Regions from separate parts of the Homo sapiens genome. Here all the other regions are linked to region 3. The links are contacts of gene promoters, found by promoter capture Hi-C in human tissues and cell types (Jung and others, 2019). All regions are on one chromosome and are shown on one strand. The core of a region is centred on a gene start or on the middle of the fragment in contact, and the rest is flanking DNA. Distances in the headings are between cores, read along the strand shown.

What was found. The method cuts DNA at HindIII sites, captures the fragments that hold promoters and counts their contacts. A contact is called where the count stands out against the background at its distance.
Region 1: a fragment that was not itself captured here is called in contact with the fragment with the promoter of AIFM2 in region 3 in 1 of the 25 tissues and cell types used here (H1 embryonic stem cells).
Region 2: a fragment that was not itself captured here is called in contact with the fragment with the promoter of AIFM2 in region 3 in 1 of the 25 tissues and cell types used here (IMR-90 fibroblasts).

What each region holds. Positions count from the first base shown.
Region 1 is chr10:70,069,544-70,073,684 of GRCh38, forward strand. The region is part of intron 1 of MACROH2A2 (macroH2A.2 histone); the gene reads left to right. Among named protein-coding and RNA genes, the nearest start is that of MACROH2A2, 19 kb to the left of the region's middle. RefSeq lists an enhancer at 1,516-2,015. The HindIII fragment of the contact is 6,286 bases long and covers 1-4,141 here.
Region 2 is chr10:70,093,818-70,097,914 of GRCh38, forward strand. MACROH2A2 (macroH2A.2 histone) reads left to right here. Exons shown (of 9, transcript NM_018649.3): 5 at 1-28; 6 at 1,837-1,936. Among named protein-coding and RNA genes, the nearest start is that of AIFM2, 37 kb to the right of the region's middle. The HindIII fragment of the contact is 4,428 bases long and covers 1-4,097 here.
Region 3 is chr10:70,130,091-70,134,074 of GRCh38, forward strand. AIFM2 (AIF family member 2) reads right to left here and starts at 2,735. Exons shown (of 9, transcript NM_032797.6): 1 at 2,644-2,735. RefSeq lists an enhancer at 2,526-3,026 and silencers at 2,548-2,757, 2,590-2,909. The HindIII fragment of the contact is 11,395 bases long and covers 1-3,984 here.

The DNA.
Region 1 (4,141 bases), core at 845-3,344, 61 kb before region 3:
TCCAGGGATTGCCCACATGGTGTCTCTGAGGACACCAAGAGCTGCGTCCAGCCATATTCTCTCCAAACATGTAAACTTAGTGTATTGTAGTCCTTAAGCTTTGCCTAATCAGAGGGAAATTGTCTTAGAGCAGAAATTGTTTCCTTCAGGCTAATACTTAAATGTAAACATTTAATATTAGCCTGAAGAAAACAAATTTTCACCTTGCAATGGTTCTTTTTAGACAGTAGGCCTACACCGAGACTCCAATTACCAGGATGTGGATAAAAACCCATTCAAGTTTTTGACTCCTGACTTCCCAAGACGGAATAGAGTTGGAGGAAAGGGTGGCCCGGGAAAGAAGGAAGTTCAGGGTTATAATTTATCATAACTCCAGGCATAATCCAGCACAGGCTTTGGGGAGAGGTGGTCTTTAGAAAGCAGGGTCTTCTCTGGAGTGGCCCCAGAGGCTCAGCACTTCCTCCCGTCGGTGGGCTCTGGTAGATGTAACATGTCAGCTCCATAAGCCCCTCCTTGCTTCCCCTAGGGATTCCTGGATGTGCTCTAATTCTTACTGTCCGTGTCCAGGGACCTCACAGCCCTGAGTCCCCAGGAGGGCCTGGGAGATAGGTGCCTGGCTGCTTAAATTCCGCACAAGACCTGAAAAGATGGGTTTGGCAGGCATAGAGGACTCTCCAGTCCTGCTTAAAATACATGCATAAGTCAGTCCATCTCACACTTAGACTTCAGATGGAGCTGCATCCCCCACCCAGGGGGATTTCCTCTAAGGCCCTCACTTAGAGGGAAGTCTGGAAGCCACAGAGGGAAAAACTTATTATAAAGTACCATGTTCAGGATGATTCTTACATTTAGGTACTTTTTTACAATGTGCAGGTGGTATGTTTCTCTACTTGTTCCTACTTTGATTTTCCTTACTTGGCTATTTTATCTTCATGAGTGTTGAGTTTTGTTTGTTTGTTTGTTTTTGAGACGGAGTTTCGCTGTCGTTGCCCAGCAGGAGTGCAATGGTACAATCTCGGTTCACTGCAACCTCCTCCTCCTGGGTTCAAGTGATTCTTTTGCCTCAGCCTCCAGAGTAGCTGGAATTACAGGCACCCGCCACCACGCCCGGCTAATATTCTGTATTTTTAGTAGAGTCGGGGTTTCATCATGTTGCCCAGGCTCAAACTCCTGACCTCAGGTGATCCACCCACCTTAGCCTCCCAAAATGTAGGGATTACAGGCGTAAGCCACCACGCTTGGCCTCTTCCTGAGTGTTTTAGGCATCCGTCCCCTAAAGTCACTTGCTTTTCTTATACTCCTAGTCCTAAGTTCCAATTTTTAGGGCAGTTTGTGACTTCTCTTGGCAGCTAATAGTAGGAAAGTCCCTAAATGGCTTTATCCTGCACACCTAGTCATTCTCTGGCTGTTTTGAGGAAAGTGTGTGTGTGTGTGTGTGTGTCTGTGTGCATGTGCATGTGTGTGTGTGTGTGAGCGCGTGCATGTATGCGTGTGCACGTGCATGCGTGTGTGGGCGCGCGTGTGCATGTGCATGAGTGTGTGTGTGTGTGTGCGCGTGTGCACAGGGGGTGTCCCTGCCCTTGTGGTGTTTGTACTTCATGCAGCATTCTCTGGTGGAAGCATGGTAGGGAGAGATTAAGACCAGCCAGCACACACCATATTCACAGAGCACGTCCACCCTGTGATGGGCTTTTCAGGTGGTTTCTTGACAACCAGACTTAGTAATCATCCTCCAATCCCACTTACCATTAACTGAGAAAAGCACATAATTGGCTTAGGAGAGTCACTAATGCACCTTTATGAGCCTGTGTAGGCTCTTAAGTCTTTAGAACCGACTGCTTAAAGAGCCTAAGCTTCTCTACCAAAATCATTGAAAAGTGCCTTTCAGAAAAATCAGGATGTTTAAGAGCAGAACAACTGTAAGGATGTTAGCCACCTGCCCTGTTTTACAGAGAAGGCCACTGAGGTCCAAATAAATAACATATGAAGCTCACATAACTACAGTCATGCATCACTTAACGAAAGGGGTACGTTCTGAGAAATGCATCGTTAGGTGATTTTGTCATTGTGCAAACAGCATAGAGTGGACTTCACAAACCTAGATGGTACAGCCTCCTGTACACCTAGGCTATAATCCTATGATCTGTTGCTTCTGGGCTACAAACCTGCTCAACATCTTACCATACTGAATACTGCAGGCAATGGTGATGGTAAGTTTTTGTGTCTCTAAACTTAGAAAAGGACAGTAAAATACAGTATAAAATGTAAACAGCAGTACACATGTATAGGGCACTTGCCGTGAATAGAGCTTGCAGGACTAGAAGTACTCTGGGTGAGTGAGTGAGTGGTGAGTGAATGTGAAGGCCCGGGACATTATTGTACACTACTGTAGACTTTATACCGTACATGTTAGCTACACTACATTTAAAAGAGAATATTTTCCTTAATAATAAATTAACCTTACCCAATAATAAATTTTCCAATAAATTATCCAATAATAAATTAACCTTAGCTTACTGTAATTTTTTTTACTTTATAAACTTTTTAACCTTTTTAAACTTTTTGACTCTTTTGTAATAACACTTAGCTTAAAACACAAATACATTGCACAGCTACTACACATATTTTCCTTCTTTATAGCCTTACTCTATAAGCATTTTTCTTTTTTTATTTTATTATTATTATACTTTAAGTTTATAAGCATTTTTCTATTAAAATTTTTTTTAACTTTTTAAACTTCTGTTAAAAAAAATAAGACACATACACATTAGCCTAGGCCTACACAGAGTCAGGGTCATCAATAACACTGTCTTCCACCTTCACATCTTGTCCACTGGAAAGTCTTTAGGGACAATAACACGCACGGAGCTGTCATCTCCTGTAATAATAATGCCTCCTTCTGGAATACCTCCTGAAGGATCCATTTAAGGCTGGTTTACAGTTTACTTTGTTTTTAATAAGTAGAAGGAGTACCAGTAACATCGTCATTTGTTATCAAGTATTATATACTATACATAATTATATGTGCTAGACTTTTATATGACTGGCAGCACAGTAGGTTTGTTTACATCAGCATCACCACAAACACATGAGTAAGGCATTGTGCTACACCGTTAGGATGTCACTAGGTTGGCCAGGTGTGGTGGCTCACACCTGTAATCCCACCACTTTGGGAGGCTGAGGAAGATGGATCACTTGAGGTCAGGAGTTTGAGACCACCCTGGCCAACATGGTGAAACCTCGTCTCTACTAAAAATACAAAAATTAGCCAGGCATGGTGGTGCACACCGATAGTCCCAGCTACTTGGGAGGCTGAGGCAGGAGAATCGTTTGAACCCCAGAGGCAGAAGTTGCAATGAGCCGAGATTGCACCACTGCACTCCAGCCTAGGGGACAGAGCAAGACTCCTTCCCAAACAACAACAACAACAACAAAAAGATGTCACTAGGGCATAGGAATTTTTCAGCTCCATTATGATCATACAGGACCACCGTCATATGCGGTCATTGTGGGGTGCATGACTGTAGTTATGTAGAAGCGGCGCTATGCCCAGGACTTTCTGTTCCGCAGTCCTGGGCTCCTTCCACTATAGCAAGAGCCACCTCCATTTAGAGCACCACAACCCAGCTAGCAAACACGTGCTATGTGAGGACAGGGACCACTTAGCAATGCTGTCTGTTTCCCCTCTTTCCTGCGACAGGGCTGACTAACAGCAGGCCCTCCATACATTTACCTAACACATAGTTGCTTGCTTCCTCAAAGAGAAAACCCCTACAAGTGGATTTATGAGAGTGAGCAGCCACAGACAGCAGCAGCACGGCAAAGGTGGGAGATCTTGTTTCTTCCAGATGAAGAAACAACGTGATAAAACAACATGGCAACATTGCCTGATCTCTGGGCCTTGCAGTCAAAGAGATAATAGTCTAAGGCACTTCTCTCATCTTTGCTTGTACCTAACTGATGAATAGCTACATCCTTTGGTGGCAAAACGACATATGAAGTATAAAATAGGGGAGTAGTAAGTACATATGAGCATTTTAAATAATGTATATGAAGTATATACTAAAATGCCCCAAACTTGAATCATTCACCTCGGGGACAGGTGAGAGTTGAGAAAGGGCTTTGTTGCTAATTTCAGAGC
Region 2 (4,097 bases), core at 930-3,429, 37 kb before region 3:
TTCTAAGAGCCTTGTTCTGGGACAGAAGGTAACAAAGAGAATTGCCTTGTGCTATATTAAAACACCACTGTATTTTTATAACCTACTGTTTACAAGCAATGATGCCTCCTTTCCTCCCCTGATAATGATTTTCACTGCAGTCTTGAATTATTCATTTTTAAACTAAAGAGCTGTGGCAGTGTCAGCATTGTGAGAGTGAGAATTGTTCTTTTTTGCTGAGAATTGTTAACGCTAACATTGGTCAGACAAGGGTGAGCATGGAAGCTCTTTCTGGTCAGTAGATAGGATGGCATTACTGGTTTTGCTGGGAATTCCCCACACCCCAGTTATTTCTACATCTGCCAAAAAAAAAATCCATAGCTAACTTTCTCAGACAGCTTCTGAGAGGCCCATCTTACATGGTTCAATGTAATTTATCAAAGAAAGAAAATAGAAATATATGTTTCCCAAATATCCTTGGTATTAGAAATGAATTATTTGCCAATAATTCAGTCTGCCTGCCTTCCTAGGCTTTAGAAAGTAAACAAACAGGGCTATGCATTTGAACAGTCTTCAGCAACACAACAGCAGCCCAACCAGACATGCAAATAATTCATTCCTACAAGTGTAAAGTTTACTGAGCAGACAATTTATCTACCAAGTCAACTGGGGCTGAAATAAGACACCCAAGGAAAGAGTCAGTTAATCATATCTCTGGTAGCTGAATGTTTCCATCTTGACAACACAGTAAGCCTCCATTCAAAGAATTGGGAAGAGTATGTTCTAAGAAGAGCATCGGTGTGGCTGGTTGCTAATTCGTCACTGATGAAAGCAGGGAAACAAAGAGGTGGAATTTATGTCCCCTCTCTGGCCTGTTCACTGTTACATGACGATTAGCTTTCTCTCACTTAGCTAAGGCAACATAAAGGTCTTGCTCACATGGGCCAACAATAGAGAATGCCCTCCATTCCACTCTACTGTGAACACATAGGATAGCAATTCCCAATGGTAGCCCCAAGACTGTGGTCTCCAAAGGGCAAGGGAGCCAGACACCCCCAGGTCAGAATCCCAGAGCCCATTACTTCTCTCCAGCAAGGTTATTGGCTTCAGAGCCCTGCCCCACAGATTTTGTGTTCTTCTAGGGAGAATGCAGGATGCTGAGGGGAGAAGAGAGAGCAAGCCCTGGGCTTCCTTGCAGGAGCTTCTCAGAAGATGCATCACTGAAAACTAAGGCCACCAGGGTTGGGAACCAAAGGCATGAGCTGTAAGGGAAAGAAAGAAAGGAGAGGGGGCCAGGCGCGGTGGCTCACGCCTGTAATCCCAGCACTTTGGGAGGCAGAGGCGGGTGGATCAAGAGGTCGGGAGATCAAGATCATCCTGGCTAACACGATGAAACTCCGTCTCTACTAAAAATACAAAAAATTAGCTGGGCATGGTGGCGGGCGCCTGTAGTCCCAGCTACTCAGGAGGCTGAGGCAGGAGAATGGCGTGAACCTGGGAGGCAGAGCTTGCAGTGAGCCGAGATCACGCCACTGCACTCCAGCCTGGGAGACAGAGTGAGACTCCGTCTCAAAAAAAAAAAAAAAAAGAGAGGGGAGGCCCTGTTCCTGTTCCAGGGAAGAAGAAATGGATTTGTTGCATGCTGCCAGCCCCAGAGTGGAAAGCAAATCCACTGAGCTCAAAGAGCTTATTGCAAGCCAAACACCTGGGAAACTGGAGGTTGTCACTCTCTATGCAGCCCCTATGTTGACATTGGGTATGAATAATTAAAGAGAATTAATGAATGCAAGTAAAATATGAGATTTTTCAACAGAATTTTATCTTTTCCACATTCACCACCTTTTCTTCCTAATGCAGCTGTCCTTAACCCAGAGTGACATCAGCCATATTGGCTCCATGAGAGTGGAGGGCATTGTCCACCCAACCACAGCCGAAATTGACCTCAAAGAAGATATAGGTAAGGTCCTGAGACTTCAGTAGAAGTGCCATAGAATAGGCCACTGTTCAGGCAAGTTCTTGTGAAGCTGATCATTGTCAACTGGCTGTCCCTCCGCTGGGGTCCCATGTCAAGCTCTGTCTTTATGTGTAGTTGAACAGTTTCACTAGAGAGAAGCTAACTTTGTTTTAATTCTGCATATATTTTTGAAATTTTTATTGGGGTATTGTGTAAAAGCAAATCATTAGCATAGAGCTTGATGAATTTTTCTCAAAGTGAACCCCACTTTGCAACCAGCACCAAGATCCTGAAGCAGACCCTTACCAGCACCCCAGAAGTCTCCCTCAGCCCCACTCCCAGTCAGTATTTCCTCCAAGGGTAACCACTGTCCTTTCTTATCAAAGCAGAGATGGGTTTCATCTGTCTTGAATTTTGTAAAAATGAAATCTTGTCCTCTTCTGGGTCCGACTCCTTTTGCTCAACTTAGTATTGTGAAATCTATCCATGTCGTTGAGTATGCTTGTATTCATTCATTTTCCTTGCTCTGTAGTATTACACTCTATAAATATATGACAGTTTATTGATCTATTCTACCACTGATGACATTTGGGGTAGTTTCCAGTTTGAGCTATAGTGAATAGTGCTACTATAAATATTGTTGTACATGTTTACATATATCGTAAGCTTAAATATTGAGAGTGCTATTGATAAAAGGGAAATGGACATCTAGAAAAAAATTAGATTGTCCATTAAGCTATGAGCATTGAGTTATTTTTGCCTGTGGTTTGCCACCTGTCCCACGAGTGGCAGAGGGAGCTGTTAATAGCCAGGGTGGAGGAGCTTGGGAGGGTAAGCTGTTATGGGCGCTGGAAATAACAGCATGCTAACAGTCCCCATCCCATCCATTTTTACCAAGCAGAACTGCCTTAAACTCTCCACGGAAAGGGTAAAGTGAGCAAAGAAGGGGCTTTGTCTCTAGGGTACAGGGCTTGCCTGTGAGGGAGGCAATTTGAGGTAGATGCTAGTAGTTCAGCCCTGGCTGGTAGCACCAGGGGCCCCAGGCAGCTGGACTCACTCAGGGCTTCCTCCTGGCATCAGAGGCCACTTGCTGTGCTGAAAAGGAGATAGGACAGCCCTGGGAAAAGTCAGCATTACAGAGAAACAGGTCTCCTTCCACTCTCCATGGAAGGACGCCCTCTAGTAGCCTTCATCTGGAGCTCTTTTAATAGGTGTCCTGCCTCTCACTGACACATTGCAGTGTTCATACTTTACACATTTCTATAGTAATGAAATTTTTATGTAAGAAAAATAATATGCTTCTTTTTTTTAATTGGCATGGTGGCAGAGTAGAAAGAGCACTGGTCTGGGAGCAAAAATTCACGCTCAGATCCCAGCAGTGGATTCTAAGGCCAACCGCTTCAGGGTCTTGGGAGGAGAAATGGGCTAAAGGCAGTCAGGTGGTTAAGAGGGCAGGTTCCAGGTCGGCCTGCCTGGACTGTCCCAGCTTTTCTGAATTGCTTCCTAGCTGACCTTTGGCAGGTTTCTAAACCTCCCTGAACCTCCGTTTCCTCCTCTGTAAGGGAGGATAGCAATAGTACCTGTCCCATAGGGGTGCTGTGATGGGGCTTAGCACAGTGCTGGGCTCCTAGGCAGTTAGTAATTGACAGTGGTTTTATTGCTGCTGTGTTAGGAGGAGTCCCTCCCATTACGATTCCATTTTCCACCACCATCACCCAAACTAATCATCCCAGCAGCCAAGGCCCTGTCTTACTCTTTTCAAAACATTATGTTATTATGGGAAAAGTCAAGCATACACAAAAAATAACAGAAAAGTATAATGAAACCCTATGCAATCAGATGCAATAATCACCACCCATGGCCACCTTTGTTTCAGCTCTTACCCCCTCCACATACTTCCAGACATCATTTTATCTATGAATATTTCACAATGACTTGTAACAGATAAGGGCTGTTTACTAACAACACAGCCACAATACCATTATTGTACCCTTAAAAAGATAGCAATATCAACAAATTACCAGTGTTCCAATTCCAGTTACATCATAAATGTCAAGTTTCTTAAACATTTGTTTAAGCCAGGCACAGTGGCACACTCCTGTAGTCCCAGCTACTTGGGAAGCTGAGGCAGGAGGATCGCTTGAGCCCAGGAGTTTGAGACCAG
Region 3 (3,984 bases), core at 1,485-3,984:
GAGGATCGCTTGAGCCTAGGAGGTCGAGGTTGCAGTGAGGCATGATCATGCCACTGCACTCTAGCCTGGGCGCCAGAGCAAGACTCTGTCTCAAAAAAAAATTTTTTTTAATTTAAATTTCAAAAAAAGATGTAAGTTCAGTGGGTTTTAGTGTATTCACCAGGTTGTGCAACCATCACAACTATCTAATTCCAGAACACTTCCATCACCCCCAAAATAAATCCTGTACCCCACCTACCCTAGCCCTGGGTAGCTACTAATGTTCTTTCTGTCTCTATAGATTTGTCTGTTCTAGACAATTCATGTAGATGGAATTATACACTATGTGGCTTTTTGTTTGCGACGTCTTCCACTGATCATCATGTTTTCAAGGTTCATCCGAGTTGTAGCATGTTATCAGTGCTTCATTCCTTTTCCTGGCTGAAAAACAGTCCATTACTGGTGTATGAATAGACCACATTTTGTTTATCCACTCATCAGCTGACGGGCACTTGGGTTGTTTCCACCTTTTGACTATGTGAATAACGCCACTATGAACATTTGTGTACAGGTTTTTGTGTGAACCAGTCTTCAGTCCTCTTTAGTATATATTTAGGTATGGAATTGCTGGGTCATATGGTAACTTGAAGTTTAACTTTTTGAGGAACTGCTAAATCCACCATCTGATTTTGAACTGAACACCAAAGCCCCAGTGGGAATCACAGAGAATCTTAACTATGTCTGTCTAGGTTCAAGAATGTTAGCTTAAAAGAAGGCCTAAGAGAGCGGAACAAACCCTGATTGTCCAGGAACCCCTCAGTAACTTTACCTTTGCTCCCTGCCACAACACACATACACACAGACACACACACACACAATCTGATTTACACAAAAATTTGCTCAGTCAATCCTGTTTTCTCTGCCAAGAGCATCCACCCTGATCTCAAGGGTATTATTCCACAATAAGCAGCCCATAGGACTACTGAAAAACCAGGAAGTTACATTTATGCCAAAGCTGTTCAGAGGTTGTGCCTCAGAAGACACACAGCAGGAACCGTGTGGGCTCTGATCAAAGCAAGAATGTCATCCCAGAGTTGCTCCAGTATTGCTTCACAAATATTACAAATAAAACACGATGCTTTTTGAGTCGTCATGGCTCACACAAAGGGTAGGTTTCAACATCAGCCTCTGGAGAGCCACATTCCCAGAGTGGCCGTCCCGGATAAGAAGGCCACTACAGCACGACTCACAGCACCATGGAGGTTTCCTCCACCTGCGGGACACAGCAGGATGGAGACGGTTGGGCGGCCTCCCTTCCTGGGACACTCCATGGCCAGCCCCTCAGGGACTACTTGAAGAACAGAACCCCCAAAAGACCAGTTTCTGAAAAGGGACTCAAAGTCTAAGGGAGGCAGCCTCCTTTTATCCCCAGGGGAGGGCAGCTCTGGGGCAGACAGGTTCATCTGGATGTCATATTCACTCCCGCACAGAAAACCTAGGCCAAGCAATTTGTCCATCCTCCTCAGAGCCAGTTTTGTGGTCCCCATGGTCTGCCCACCACCTGTACCTGGACGCTGGCTTCATTTGGCCACCAGACAAAAGTCAGGCTGGCCCTGGAGTCCACCGGCCTGCCCAGCCCATCACTTCTGGGCTAGGTAGTGCTAAGCCTGCCCAGCCCACCCTGGCTGGGGCTCAGTGCCCTCTTCTTGGTGACACACTGTGCTCCTTGGAGAACTCCTCTCTAGGTGCTGGGGTGAGGGCAGGTGTGATCTGAGATCCCGGGGCTCTCTGGCAGGTGCATGCACGCACACTGGAACCTGATACAGGCTTTTGAACACAGGTGCACAGTCCAGAAACCTGCAAGTCCCATCCCAAACTATATCTGACTCTCTGCCCTATGCCTGTCCTCCTACAGGATCATCAGCCCCCAAGAGACCTCACCACTCCCCATCCTCACCTTAAATTCCAGGGTCAAAAAGACTCTCCTTGTAGGGAAAGGTAGGGTGTGTTGATCAGGTGGTGTTGGAAGGAGAGCCCCAATATAGGCCACTAATTCAGTTCCAGGTGGACTGCACGCGTCCCATCAGAGTTAGTTTACTCACCGCTGGTCTTTGTCCCTGCAGCACCCAGGGCTTCGGGAAGGGAGAAGCAGACTTCCTAGTGCTGCACCCCCCAGCTCCCCCGAGCCTATGGGCACTGGGTTGACTCCAGTTTCTTTCCTCTTAGAGACTGAGGTTTCTCCCTTTCCTCTCACACCTGCTTCTGTCCGGACCGGCCGCTTCTACCCAGCGGACCCTCGGACGGTCCTCGCAAGATCCGGGTTACACCCGCCCCGTGTTCCCTCTTCCCCGGTTCGCCCTTCCCGGCCTAAGCCCATCTTCCTTAGGAAAACTTAGCAGGGATTTAGGGGCCAAACCAGGAGGGTGGAGTTTTCTTTGCCCTCGGCCAGGAGCACATCTCCCTGTTGCGTTTTTTGGGGGAGACAGAGAGGGGCGGGCCTGAGTCGAGTATCCCTCTCCTCGCAGCGCCACAACTGCGCGCACCGACCTCCCCACGCCAGACGCGGCGTGAGCCAGGCCTCTAATCCGCTCGCCCCTCTTCCGGGTCCCGGTCCCGCCCGGGGCGCCCGGGGTCTCGAGAGCCCGCCTGGCGGCGCGATCTCACCTGTCGGCCGCGCCCGCGCGCTCTCGCTCCGGCTCCCGCTCCCGCTCCCGCTCCCGCTTGGTCGTCTTCCCGAGTTACTGACCCGAGGCGCTCCCGGGCGGGGCGTGACTCAGCACTCGTGCTGGTCCCCGACCCCGCGGCAACGCCCCGGCCAGGCCCCGGAAACGGTCCTGGCACGCTGGGGCTGGTCTCCGAACGGCCCGCCGGACTAACCTTGACCCTGAGCGAACGGCCTTGAACTTTGAAACAAATGCTCCCATGGCCAGATGTCGCCTCTCCGGCTCCTGCCAGCACCCGCGCCCCAGTCCTGCCGAGCCATTCAGACTTGGTTTAAAGTGTCCTTTCAGCATACTTTAAAGCAAAAAAGAGAGAGAGAGAGAGAGAGAGAGAGAGAGAGAGAGAGAGAGAGAGAGAGAGAGAGAGAAGGAAGGAAGGAAAACAAGCATCCCCCTGTTCCTCTGATTTTCTCGAGGACACCTTTAAAGCCACTGGAACCTTGGAGAGTGGGGTTCCCCTCACACGTTGGGCGCACTGCCAACATCCTTCCTTCAGACATACACATAATAATTCCGCAAACCCTGTTGAGCTCCTACATTTGCCAGGCACTGTGCTAGGCGTTGGAGGGATAACTTGGAGAGAAAACTGACAAGGTTCCTGCTTTCACGGAGGCGACAGTCTGGGAAAAGACAGATATTAAACACACCACCAAAAAATACATGTATAGAGAAAACAAAAACCATGTATCACCAACTGCAGTAAGAAAGATTGGGCATGGCCAGGCACGGTGGCTCATGCCTACAGTCCCAGCACTTAGGGAGGCCAAGGCGGGAGGATCGTTTGAGCCCAGGAGTTGGAGACCAGCCTGGGCAACATAGCGAGACCTACAAAAATTAGCCGGGCTTGTTGGTGCACACCTGTAGTCCCAGCTTCTCGGGAAGCTGAGGTGGGAGGATTGCTTGAGCCCAGGAGTTTGAGGCTACAGTGAACCATGATCATTCCACTGCACTCCAGCCTAGGTGACTGTGAGATTCTGTCTCAAAAAAAAAATAATAATAATAATAATAATAAATGAAATGAAATGAAAAAATAAAAAAGAAAGACTGAGGGCAAAGGAAGGGTGCAAATACTTCTCTCCAAGGATGAGAAAGAGGTAGATTTAGGTAAAGAGGAAGGAAGTGTGGTCTGGATGTGCAAAGACCCACAGGCAGGACAATGACCTGGAAGGCAGTGTATTGCCAGCTCAAATCAGACCAAGCTAACTCAGCGAAAGATAAGCCATCTCCATCTACTTACTGCAAATATTAGCACCTACTTTAAGAGTTGTGGATAAGGGCCAGGCAC